Linked DNA regions of Homo sapiens: regions 2 and 3 are each linked to region 1. Evidence: promoter capture Hi-C in 16 types of primary human blood cells and fetal thymus (Javierre and others, 2016). All regions are on one chromosome and are shown on one strand. Each heading gives the region's core, a stretch centred on a gene start or on the middle of the fragment in contact. The rest is flanking DNA. Distances are from core to core; before and after follow the strand shown. Region 1 holds the start of KLHL25 (kelch like family member 25). Region 2 overlaps NTRK3 (neurotrophic receptor tyrosine kinase 3). Region 3 holds the start of AEN (apoptosis enhancing nuclease).

What was found. The method cuts DNA at HindIII sites, captures the fragments that hold promoters and counts their contacts. A CHiCAGO score of 5 or more calls a contact.
Region 2: a fragment that was not itself captured here is called in contact with the fragment with the promoter of KLHL25 in region 1 in 2 of 17 cell types (M2 macrophages and M0 macrophages); the score reaches 7.7 in M2 macrophages.
Region 3: a contact is called between the fragment with the promoter of AEN here and the fragment with the promoter of KLHL25 in region 1, in 4 of 17 cell types (M0 macrophages, M1 macrophages, neutrophils and 1 more). The highest score is 8.8, in M0 macrophages.

What each region holds. Positions count from the first base shown.
Region 1 is chr15:85,792,314-85,796,354 of GRCh38, reverse strand. It overlaps KLHL25 (kelch like family member 25), which reads left to right and starts at 1,430. Exons shown (of 3, transcript NM_022480.4): 1 at 1,430-1,589. RefSeq lists silencers at 1,240-1,309, 1,460-1,759. The HindIII fragment of the contact is 2,328 bases long and covers 7-2,334 here.
Region 2 is chr15:88,225,232-88,229,411 of GRCh38, reverse strand. All of the region lies in intron 3 of NTRK3 (neurotrophic receptor tyrosine kinase 3), which reads left to right. Among named protein-coding and RNA genes, the nearest start is that of NTRK3-AS1, 25 kb to the left of the region's middle. The HindIII fragment of the contact is 3,689 bases long and covers 132-3,820 here.
Region 3 is chr15:88,620,011-88,624,055 of GRCh38, reverse strand. It overlaps AEN (apoptosis enhancing nuclease), which reads right to left and starts at 2,716. Exons shown (of 4, transcript NM_022767.4): 1 at 2,674-2,716. RefSeq lists enhancers at 1-1,185, 2,672-2,831, 2,161-2,834, 2,835-3,508 and a silencer at 2,462-2,651. The HindIII fragment of the contact is 13,176 bases long and covers 1-4,045 here.

The DNA of each region.
Region 1 (4,041 bases), core at 181-2,680:
CAAGCTTCTTACCTCTGGCCAATATTGTTCATAAATATCAGAACCCTGGTGCCTTAGATGTCTGCAGATCTGGGCCAAATGGAAGCACAAATCTGTACTGAGCACTTACTACATGCCAGGCCTATTCCATATGTTATCTTAATCTTTCCCATACCCCTGCAAGAAAGGTTTTAGAATCCTCTTCACCAGTAAGAACCAGACACCAGAGAGTCTGAGCCATCTGCTTCAGTCCTACCCAGCTCTTGAGGGGCAGGGCGGGGCTTCAAACCCAGAACATCAAGCTGTTTCCCAAAAATGCCTTCCCTGGTGGTATCTTCTCATCATCTCCCAGTCTTTTAACCCTGGCATATCTGTCCTGTCTAAGCAGCTTTCTACCCAGGGGCTCTATTTCCCAGGTTCCACTAGTCACAATCCTATCCCCTCTCCCAAATCTTTGTACACTTTCTTAGACCTTCCTTGCACCTCCCACCTCCACCTCCGTCAGGGTGACCTCTGCTTCCTGGGAATTTCCCCGCCCCAGGCTTGGCTCTTTCGTTCTTATCACTTTCTATGCTTTACCTTTTGTATCCTTAAGCAACCTACTTGAATTATCGATTTTCATTGGGAGGGAGAAAAGAGAGGACATTTATTGCGCACTCATTTGTCTGGGAATTTGTCTCCTTTAATCCCCCAAATAATCCGATGAGGAGTTTTTATCTGCCGCTTTACGGATGAGATTGGACACACACAGTAAGCTGAAGTAGTAGTCAGGAGGGAAAAGGACGAAGAATCACAAACCGTTCTCCCCCTCCAAGATGAGTGCATGGTGTGGGCGTCCAGGAAACGTTCCTGGAAGAAATTATTGGATGGATGGATGAATGAATGAATGAACGAACATTTAAAGGCTGGCTTACGAAAGGAGTTTAGTGAGAAATGACACAGAGAGGAGAGCTGAAATACTCCAAAAAATACAGATTTCAAGTACAGGTGGGGTTTGGAGGCTGCAGAAAGTCCCAAACATTCAAACAAGCCCAGAGTGAAAGACAGGGTTTCATTAACACTCGGGCAACTACTAGTGTGGCTCTGAAGAGTCTAAAGAGATCTACAACACTTGTGACCCGAACACAAAAGAGGCATATGCAATCTACAGTGCTCCCTCTGGAAAGCTCTAGAACACCGTCGCGTTTTGTTCCCAAACTTGGGCGGCGGGGTTGGGCAGGCGCCTGTCTCTTTAAGAATCTGGTCGAAGTCCTTTTCCTCGCCCCGCCCCGCCCCCGGTCCCCCCCCCTCCCCGCCCCCGGCCCCCCACCCCCCGGTGCCGGCGCGGCCTGGGGCCCACCCCCTTCTTTTCTGCGGCTGCACTGAAGGGTTCGGCTGCCCATCCGTCACAGAGGCGATGCCTCTGATTGGCTGCTGCTCTTCGGGCCGGGAGGCGGGGCGGGAAGGCCGGAGAAACTAGTTTGTTGGCGGCGCCTAGGCTGTATCGCAGCGAGAGCGTTTTTGCCTGTGGAGAGCCGGCCGACGGGAGCCGCGGCGGAGCCTGTTGAGCTCGCGCGGGCTGCCGGGAGTGGTCTCTGAGGCGGCGGCGGCGGCGGGGATCGTCTCCGGCAGTGAGTATCCAGGCCGGGCGGGGACGCCGTGCTCTGGCCGCAGCACCCGCGCCCCCGCTCCCTGCGCTGGGGACTCACCACCCCGGGCCGGGCCGGGACCAAGCGCTCGGAGCCCCCGCGGGACTACGTGTCCCGGGAGGGGGCCCCGCGGCTGGGGCCGGGGCCCTGGGACAATGGTGGGGAGCGGCGGCCGGCCGGCACCCCGCGGCTCCGCGAGGGAATTCGCCGAGAGCTCTGCGCGAGGGAATGAATTGTTTGGCAAATGGATGTTGCGCGCGGGAGCCGCTACTCTTTCCCCAGGGAGTGGTTGATTCATTGAGTCCGCAGACTCTTTTTTTTAAAAAATTACTATTGATCCTGGAAAGAGAGACTGCTTGTCTTTGAGGACGCGAGCGGCGATGCCCCGCGCCTTGGACGCCCAGGCCGGATGGCTGCCTGCCTGGCGCAGAGCGAGGGCCCGGGGTTCACAAGGGGAGGGTTTGCGCGGGCCTGGCCGCGGAGCCCCGAGCCGTTCACGTTCCGCCTGCCAGGGTCCCTCGTTTCGGTTTGCAGAACTGTCCAGCGGCAGAGAAAGGTCGCACTCAAAGGCACACCCACCTGTCCACCTGGGTGGCGGCCAGACTGGCAGGTCCAGAGCAAGCCCTCTAGCCTGACTCTAATTACCACACTTGCCCTGGCTCCGAGACACACCGCGCGATGTTACGCCCCCACTCCCCCTGTCTCTTTCGTAGTTGCTTTAGAAGCTTTTCTCTTGGGGGATTGTGCCCGGGAGATACCAGATACTTTTTTTGTGTTGCTGCTCTAAGCCCCCAAAGTGCATTCCCATTGTCTTTGAACAAAGAAACATCTCTCTAGAGGCCTGACCCAACGAACTGTGGGTGAGGGGGCGGACCCAGGCCCCTGCAGATTTAATCTGGACGCTCTTGGGTCCTGCTGGATCCCGGTGAATTTGACCTTGGGGAAGGCGGGCTGGACTTTGACTCTCCTCGGTAGTCAGGGCAGAGAATGCCAGGTGTCTGGACCATTTGGTTCCACTCTATCGGCCCAATAGAGAGAGGAAGGGAAGGAAGTTAGCAGTAGCACCAGGAGAGGAGGCAGGATTCCACGGTCTGTATCCTGGACCAGATTCCAGTGACCGTTATGGGGCCAAGCCCTCTGGGACCCTGGGTCCCAGTCTCCCCATTCATAGGAGGAACTGATGCTCAGTGTGCTGATCTGAGCTGTGAGGATTCCTGGCATGTTGGTGAAGGCTTGCGTGGGGGTCTGGGGAAGAGTAGGACACAAAGTCTACCCCACCTCAGGGTCCATTTGGTGTCCCAAGACCGGAGGCTCTTGGGTCCACAAGCTGTGCCTGTGAAGGTTGACGTAGTCAGTCTTTTTCCGGCCTGGCAGCTATTTCAGTTTTGAGTCATTTGTCAGGCAGTGACTCCAGGGTGGTTGATAAAAGGGAGGTAGAAATGGAAGACACCTTCATCCTGGGGTCTTGGGCTGCAGTTGGATTTATGTATGTGGTGCGGAGAGAAGAGCTATAGGCAAATTGCATGCTCCACATCGGAAGCAGGTTCTGCAGCCCGATGCCCCTTAATAGCGTTTTAAATCTGCGGGCACCCCGTGTGGGCAGAAGAGAGCAGGAAGAAAAGAGAACAATTACCCAGTGAAAGCAAGCTTGGTTCGTCCCGTCTATCACTTGGGCGGGGGCGGGGGGAAGGGTAGGATGAGTGAGAGTGTTATTTAGTGGGTGGTTTGTGACTGATTGATTGATTGATTCATTGTTTGAACAGACTTGATTGGGCACCTGCTGTGTGCCAGGCCCTGAGTTAGGTGCTGGAGACTCTTCCTTTAGTGAGCACCTAGATGAGGGAGTGCTGGCACATGGATTAGGGGCCCTGACACATCGTAGTGATAGAGGCAGCAAGAGGAGAGAAGGAGACACAGGTGGGCAAGGCTTCCTGGGGAGAGGATGCCTTGACTAAGATGAGAAAGGCATGTCATCGCCCAGATTCGAGGTGTAGGGCAGCCACCTTTGTCCTGTCGCTCACCCACACTTCTCCCAGAGGCCCAATTCATTGCCAGCCTCAAGATAGGCACAGGTTGAGGCCATGGAGAATGCAAGTGGGAGGTGGTAGAAGGTTTGCTCTCGTCCGTAGTGTCTGGCCGCACAGTCAGCAGTCCAGCGCATTTGTAGGAAGCTGGATGGCTTCTGGATGCAGCCTCTCTTCTCTGGGGGTCCTGGGAGAACCTACCCCCTGGTCCCAAAGACCAGCCCATTGTCTGAGCCCCTAGTCCCTCTGTACCACCAGGCAGTGTAGGCATAGCCTGGCCAGTGTGGGCAGAGCTGGCACAAGAAAACAGAGTGGCCAGACACAAATGAATTGGTTGATTGAGATGCTGGTTTTCATCTAATGTGGTAAATTTCATAATTTAATTGCCTCAGCCAGCCAAGGCTGTTGAA
Region 2 (4,180 bases), core at 727-3,226, 2.4 Mb before region 1:
ACAAGCTTTGGGATGTAACATGGAGAAGCAGATTGGAAAGATCCTGAGTGTAAAGATCAGGCAGATTTGATCCTAGTTCTCCTGCTCATGGGCTCTAGGATGTTGGATAAGTCATGTAACCTCTTCAAGCTTTAGTTCCTCCTGGAACCTCATCCCCCAGGGTGGTTGTTAGAGTTGAATACCATTATGTATGTAATCAGACAGGCTTGCGTTTGGCTGCAAGTAACTGAAAACTGGCTTGGTGGCTTAAACATATAGGGGTTTATTTTTCTGATGAAAATTAGACAATGGGAGATTGGCTGGTGTTGGTCCAGCACTCAGCTATGTCAAGGGTGGAGTCTCTGCCATTCTCTTAGCCTTTCTCTCATGGTTGCATGGTGGCTGCAGCCAATATGTCCTGGTGAGGGGCAGATAGGGTCAGGGAGGGGTAAGGAGTGAGCACACCAGCAAAGGAGGGAGCTCCCCAGAGGTCCCCCCACAACACTCCCACCCTTAGACTTCTGCATATGGCTCAGGCTTCAAACCTGGCCATCCCTTGTTGCCAGGGAGGCTGAGCAGATGAACATGTGGCTTTCAATCTCTATGGCAAGGTGAGGTGAAGGGGGCAGAAGCTGGAGGGGCTTCTGGGGGTGCTGCCATATCTAGAGAGCTTGTTGGCTTGCAGACCTCCAGTTCCCCTCTGTTACTGCGTGTGAGGCTTTGTGGAAGTTATTTTGAGGATCACAGTGATGACCCCAATAGACAACTATAATACAAGGGAAGAGGTGAAGAGTACTGGGGTCATGTGCTGTGGGTTTTCCTGGAGGAGGGTCTGTTTCTGCCCAGGGGAATCAGGAAGGCTGTGGTGGGATCTGAGTGGTGGGTCACAACTGACCAAGAGGAAGGGAGTTGGAAGGGGCAGCAATTACCACAGCTCCCAGAGGCTCTGAGTGCAGGTGTAGACAGATCCTTTATGCACTACAGGGTAGTATGGGGGCAAGGGGACTGATAGGATGAGACTCATGTTTCAGGAAGATTGAGCCATAACAGCCAGCCATGGATTGGAAGTAGCAGACAGCCAGGATGGGGAGATCCAGCGGGAGGTGTGGAATCTCTCCAGATGGAGGGATGAAAATCAGATATAGGAAGAGGGGGTGGGAGAGAGAAATGGCATGGAGGTCAGAGTGGCAGGATTTGAGCTGAGGGGGCATGCATGGATTCTCAGTGCTGGGATTTCCAGTGGGGAGCCCAGGAGAGAGGGGAGTGACGTGCCCAGAGATAGAGGAAGATCAGCAGGGAGTGGATATGAGAAGGAAAAGCATGATTCTGGTTTCACACATTGGGTTTAGGTTTGGCCTGGAAATCCAGAGGCAGATGTCTGCCAGCAGTTGGAGTTTCTGGGCTGGCTTGGGCATAAAAACCAGGCCTGCAGGTTAGTGAATTATGTGTCTAGAGGTGAGGGCTGAAGCCAAGGATGCCAGTGAACATGAAGAAGGGAGGAGGGCCAAGGTGAGAACCCTGTTTCCATCTGGATACAGGAGTAAGGAGAAAGGACCCACGGGAGTGAGCTAGCAAGGGGAATGCTTGGTACTGCTGCGAGGGGCATGCAGCTTCTAGGGGGAGGGTAGTGGTCAGCGACCTCAGTGGCCCAGAACTGAGGTGGGTAAAGGGGGAGGGAGGAACGGGCAGTGAGTGTTCCCCTGAGGGTTTGGTTACCAGGTGTGTTAATCTGCTGCTGCTGCCATAACGAAGTCCCACAGACTGGGTGTCTTAAACAGAAGAAGTGGATTCCTCACCGTTCTAGAGGCTGGAAGTCCAACATCAAGGAGCCAGCAGGACTGGGTTCCTCTAGGGCCTCTCTCCTTGGCTTGCAGATGGCGGCCTTCTTGCTGCCCCTTCACCTGGTCATCCTTCTGTGTGCACATGTCCCCGGTGTCTCTCTTTTCACCTGCCCACATTTCCTCTTATAAGGACCCAGTCACATTGGATTAAGGCCCATCCTAATGACCTCATTGTATCTTAATTACCTCTTTAAAGGTTCTATCTCCAAATACAGTCACACACCGAGGCTCTAGGTAGGGGCTAGGACTTCAACAAATGAATTTTATGTTGGGGGTGAGGAGTGGACAGCAGTCAGCTCCTAACACCAAGGGAAAGCTGGTGATAGGTTGGTGGGAAATGCAGCTTTTTAAGGGAAATGTGGGCACAAAGGAAGAGCCAGTGGATGGGAGAGCCTGAAGGAGCAGGAGAGACCCGACGGGGAGGATGCAGGGCATGGAGGATTTGGGAGAGAGAGAATAAGAGGTGCAAACTGAAGCTGAGATTTCCTGGAAGGCTGGGGCACCATCGTTCATCTCTGTCCACAGAGCCTCACTTTATGCTGGGTTTTGGATAAATAAAAGAAGAGCATCCTCTATCTCTGTAAAAGGAGGGAAAGTGGAAAAGGTGAATGTGCAGATGCATACATAAAGTGGAAAGAAGATGAGAGCTCAGGTCAGATGTTCTAAATCTTCTCAGTGATACTTAACCTCTCTGAGCCTCAGTTTGCTGCTCTGTAAAATGGGGCTATCACCCCTCCTTCACTGGGTGACTGAGAGGATTAAGTAAGATAATTTCTGCAAAACACTTGGCCTGGTACAATGCTAAGGGCTCTCTACAAGTTGAGTGTGATTATTGTTGTTACTTTTATTAATAATGGAACGGGACACAAGACCATGTGAGTGTGGGCCCAGGGGCAGGGGTGGGGGTTTGATGGAGATTTGCATCAGCCATAGGGGCCGTGCGGCCCAGAGATGGCTCAGTGCTCCCCCTGGTATGTCAGGATGGAGGGCAGTGGGGGCCTGAGGACAAGGAGGAGGGACTTTTGAGGCTGGACTTCCCTGGCCTCTGGAATAATTTGTGTCTGAAATTTCAGAAGCCAGACTGTTCTCTAGGAAGTGAGTGTTGGAACTGGAGACCCACCCCCATTGTGGGTCATCTCACTGCCCTTCAGTGCCTGGCCTTCCCCGGCATCTCAGGGCCACCTTGTGGACTGCTCGTGGCCTGTTTCTTATCCACTCACACCATCCAGTCGGCACTTCCTGGGATCTACCCTGAGGGATGCTCTGGTGGCTGCAACCTCTGGGGTGGAGGAGAGAGCATGTGCTGAGGGCATTGGAGGGCAGGGATGAAGGGAGAGGAACCCATGGAAGGGGTCTGCAGGGGGCAACCGGCAGGTGCTGCCCTGGGCTTAGGACTCTTGGTCCCAGAGCTAAGGACTTAGAGACGGTCTGGCTCACTCCCTGCATTCTACAGATGAGGAAACTGAGGCCTGAAAGGAAGAGGACTTGCCTGGTGTTGCACAGTGGGGACATCACAGAGTGAAGACTCCTACCATGCCTTTGACTTCACATCCAGTGTTCTCTCGACTTCCAGACTGCTTCCTGGGATCGCCCTTGTCTTGTCACCTCGGCCCTTTAGAAGGGCCATCTCTCCAGGGTCTGGGGTCTGAGCAGATCAGGGCCAGAGGCAGCAGCAGGCTGTGCATGTCTAGGTAGCGGGTGACTGCTGACTGCAGCCTATCGGACCCCCAGGAAGGGATCTGTGCCTTGTTGTTCTGGCCCTTCCTTCAATCTCCTCCCATCCCTCCTCCTGCCTGCCGTGAGGTGTGGTGTACGGGGCTGTCGGCTCCCTGAGTTTCTGGAGAGGGTTTTGGATCTGGTCTGCATGGATCTGGTTGGGAAACATCAGCACTGTCAGAAGAGGGGAAGTGGGCTGTGCCTGGCTTGTACTGATAATTGTGACCCTGCTTTGTGAATCGGAACTGTGGATGACTTAAAACAGAGATATCAAGAGAGAAGCTTCCCACGCCCTGCAGCCCTGCCCTGTCCCCCATCTTGTCTCTCTTCTTCATCTCCTGGACTCTTCATCCTCCCACTTCATTCATCTGCAGCTTGCTTTGGGAGCCTTCTCCACTCTGAACAGCATCCAGGGGTCCCTCCTACAGAAAACAGAGGGTTTTTGGGGTTTGCAGAAAGGAGGTGGGATGGGTGGCTTCTGCAGCTCTGACTGGCTGGTCTCTTTTAGGATCAGGGTAGTACAGAGGGTATAGCCCCTGCTCACCTCCACCCAGCAGAGAACCCATACCTGCTTAAGCCCAGTATTTGTGCAGAAATGTCTTCTCTCACTCAAGCAAAACCCCGACCTGCATTGGAAAGCAAAC
Region 3 (4,045 bases), core at 1,467-3,966, 2.8 Mb before region 1:
GAGGCTTCCTGGAAGAGGCTACATCTGTGTGCATGTACAACAGTAACCTTCCAGGTAGAAGGGAGAAGAATCAGTGGCCATGTTAGGGGCAAAGGCCTTAAAAAGGACTAACCCAGGGTGGAGGAAGAGGGCCCACCAGCAGCCTCAAGTCACTGGGGTGTAGAGCATAAGGCGGGTCATGCTGGAGGCACTGCTCCTCGCTCCTCTCTCCTTTGCACCATTTCATCTTCTGTTTCCTACTCTGGTGGCCCTTCCACAAGCCACCCCTACCGCAATCTGGTGTCCCCTGAATTGGTCTCTACTGGCCAAGTGAGTGGGGGAGCCCCAGAGGCACCTATGGAGGTCACTGAAATATCCCACAGTAGCCCTGACTCAGGACACTAAGTCTAGCTGGGGAGCAAAGAAATTCATCCCTCTGTGCTGAGCTCTTATAGCACAATTTGAGAATTATTACACCCTTCAAAGTCCATTGGTACACACAGTCTACCTCAGAGCTGTAAGAAGGCAGGTTAGAGCCTTGATTGTACCTTCCCCAACAGCCAGCCTAGAAGCTAGCATGTGGCAGGTCCTCTTCAGAAGGGTGTAGAAAGAGGTCTGGAGAAGATGAAAACCTGAGCAGTAGCAGCAGAGATTAAGAGAAATGGGAAGGGGATGGGAGGTGAGGTGAAATGCCAGGTTTGATGATGCCAGCATTTGCATAAAGAATCCCCACACTCTAGGGCAGGGCACCGCATCCTGACTTGACTCATCCAGACCTGACCCATCCTGACTCATCCACCCTGCTTGCTCATCCCATCCTTTCCAGGAGAAAAGGTCTCTCTTTTAAAAAGGTCTTAACTGTAACCAACTTCCTCATATTGACAGTCACATCTTAGAACTGACAAATTCAGAACCTTAATCTGCCTCAGCCCAGCAATGGGAGAAAAAAGCCTAAGAAGCCCAATGCCCACCCTGCTAATAACTAATTTGGGAAAGGGGGCTGGCGGATAGTCCCCTCCTTTCTCTGTGAGGGGCTGAGGCTAGGAGTAGGGTGGGTGGCTTTCCTGATCCTACTGGCAAGGTTTTAAAGAAGCCAGAAATTAAGTTATCTGAGAAAAGGTCTCTGTAGCCTCCTATTTCAAGAGAGGAAAGTAGTCCTTTTCCAAACACCCTGACCTTGCTTAAGAGAAGAGAGAAAGAGACCTCCCCCTCATATTGTTCTGTATTATTTTATACTCAGTACCTGTTTTAAGAAGAAACAAGGAAGCAAAACCAAAGGCAGGCAGCCCGGCGCCACGCACCAGACCCAAAACCAGACCCAAAACCAGGCCTGGGCCTGCCTGACCTTAGCCTGATAGTTAAAATTAAACCCATGACCTAGCAACCGATGTTATCCATAGATTTCAGACATTGTATAGAAGGACACTGTGAAATCTCTTGTTCTGTTCTGTTCTGTTTCACTCTGACTACCGGTGCATGCAGTCCCTGTCACATACCCCCTAGATTGCTCAATCAATCATGGCCCTTTCTTGTAAAATCTTTAGTGTTGTGAGTCCTTAAAAGGGACAGAAACTGTGCACTCAACAAGCTCGGATTTTGAGATGCTAGTCTGCCGATGCTTCCAGCTGATTAAAAGCCAATTCCTTCACTACCTCTGTGGGGTTTTGTCCGCGGCTCCTCCTGCTACATGCTGACACGTCAAAACCAACAGTCATCAAGGACACACCTCTTTGGGGACCCAAATGTAGCTCAGTGAAGCTGGAGAGAAGTTCCGCTCAGATAAAACAACCCTTTCAACAAGGACAAACACAAGCCTTTCTCTAGCCTGGACCCAGCGCTCTGGGGGTCAGACACCCGGCCTTCAGGCAGGGAGGGGGTCTGGCCTAAAGAAAGGGTCCCAGCTGCAGAGTCAATGGAGCAAAGGCCCCAAAGGAACCAAGAAGTCAGAATCCTCGGTGGCATGAGAGCCACCAACCTGCTGGCTGATCAAGAGGGCAGAGGGCAGTTCTAGACCCTCCTCTGGCACTAAGTAGCTAGATGATCTGGGGCAAGTCACGTCTCTTCACCATCAACCGAGGGCTGTGAATTAGATAAGGGCTTCCCAAATGTAGTTAATTACCATATGACATCTGATGAAAGGCTGATTTTCAGGCCCACTCCCACACCGTCCTAATTGCTATTTTGGGGAAAGGGGCCTGAGAATCTAGATTTTTAAAAAGAGCGCGGACGACCCCTACCCTCAAGCCACAATTCTGATAATCGCCCAAACCTGAAAAAACCTGGCTCGATAAGGTCCCCTGTGCTGCTAAAAAGTCCACGGAACAACGACAACAACTAAAGTCTGCTATCCTGGCACGACCTCCCCGCCGGCTGGCGTTCTCCCAGGCGTGACGCGTGGGAGGCCTGATCTCACCGGGAAGGACTCGGGCGTTGGTCACTTGCTGGCCGCGGCAGCTGGGCCGAGTCCCAACGACCAGCGCCGCCCCCTCTGGCCCTGGACCCCCGAGCAGAGCGAGGGCTGGAGACAGGCGGCGCCCGGCCTGCTTTTCTGCGGGCCGGTAGGGCAGGGTCAGCCCAGTTCAGGCGTCCCCGCCGCAGGCCGGGGCGGAAACAACGCGCGGGGACCTGCGACCCGGGACACGCGGCCTCAGCCCGCCCGACCCCGCCGCCCCGGTGCAGGGTCCTGGATCTCACCTGAAGCCCCGCGTGTCTCTTCCGGTCTGCACGTGGCGTCCGGAAAGCCGGCAGCTCCCACATGCCCGGGCAAGCCCGGCTCCGACTGCCCGCCTATTGGCTCGCTGGACGGCAGCGCCCGCCCAAGACCTCTTCTGATTGGTCGAGCCTGCCTGGCAGCGGGGAGGCGGGCGAGAGCAGAAGGGGAGGGACTCCTGAAGAGGGCGTAACTCGTGCTGCGAGCCGGCCATACTGGCGGGAAATTTTAAAGAGAAGGGAAGGGAGACTGACCTCCTGTCGTCCCTGCCCGGTCCCATCAGTGTTCCCCGGCTCCAATCCACTCCTCTACCTGGGTCGGGATGTGGGCTCCTGTAAGCCTGGTACCACCAAAGGCCGAATGACTTACTGAGTACACCCACATCTGCAGATTGGGAACATCGGCCCTTACCTCCTCGGGTGTTCTGGGATTCAAGGAAATAATATACACAGTAGGCACTAAAGAGAGACTTTGAAAGTCAGGTTTCCTCCGTCAGCGCTGCTTTTTCATTTATTCTTTTGCAACACTTGACTCCTAAGTATTAAGTTCCTACGTGGGCTTGGCAGTGGGATGCACACAATAAACACATAAGCATCCTGAGTTGTTTATCTAACAGCAGGGAAACAGCAAGGTTAACAGAAAATTCAGTGCAACATGAGGCCGGGGCGCGGTGGCTCACGACTGTAATCCCAGCACTTTGGGAGGCCGAGGCAGGTGATCACCTGAAGTCAGGAGTTTGAGACCAGCCTGACCAACATGAAACCCCATCTCTCCAAAAATACAAAAATTAGCCGGGCGTTGACGGGAGCCTGTAATCCCAGCTACTCGGGAGGCTGAGGCAGGAGAATCGCTTGAGCCCAGAAGGCGGAGGTTGCAGTGAGCCGAGATCGCGCCATTGCACTCCATCCAGCCTGGGCACCAAGAGCAAAACTCCGTCTCAAAAAAAAAGAAAGAAAGAAAGAAAGAAAATTCAGTGTAACATGAGTAATAACAAGAACAATAATAAACAGTTCACACGTATTATGTGAGCACGAATGATGTGCCAGGCAAAATACTCAGTTAATTTGTACAATGACCTTACTATTATTTCAGTTTTACAGTTAAGGAAATTGACACTTAAATTAAGGAGAAACACCTAGAATCCAAAGATCCTTACCTAAGCAGTCTGACTTCTCTTAGTTCACATTTTGCAAGCAGAAGTGATTTGGAAACGTACCTGTGATGAGAAATAAGCTAGGAGCTCTTTCTGATGGGAGTACAAATTTGAGGGAAGCAGGACAAGGGATGAGGTCACAAGAGAGATCAATCCTTTTACCCAGGCCCCTGAAGGCTTTGGGGAGGCAGAGGGATTTAAGC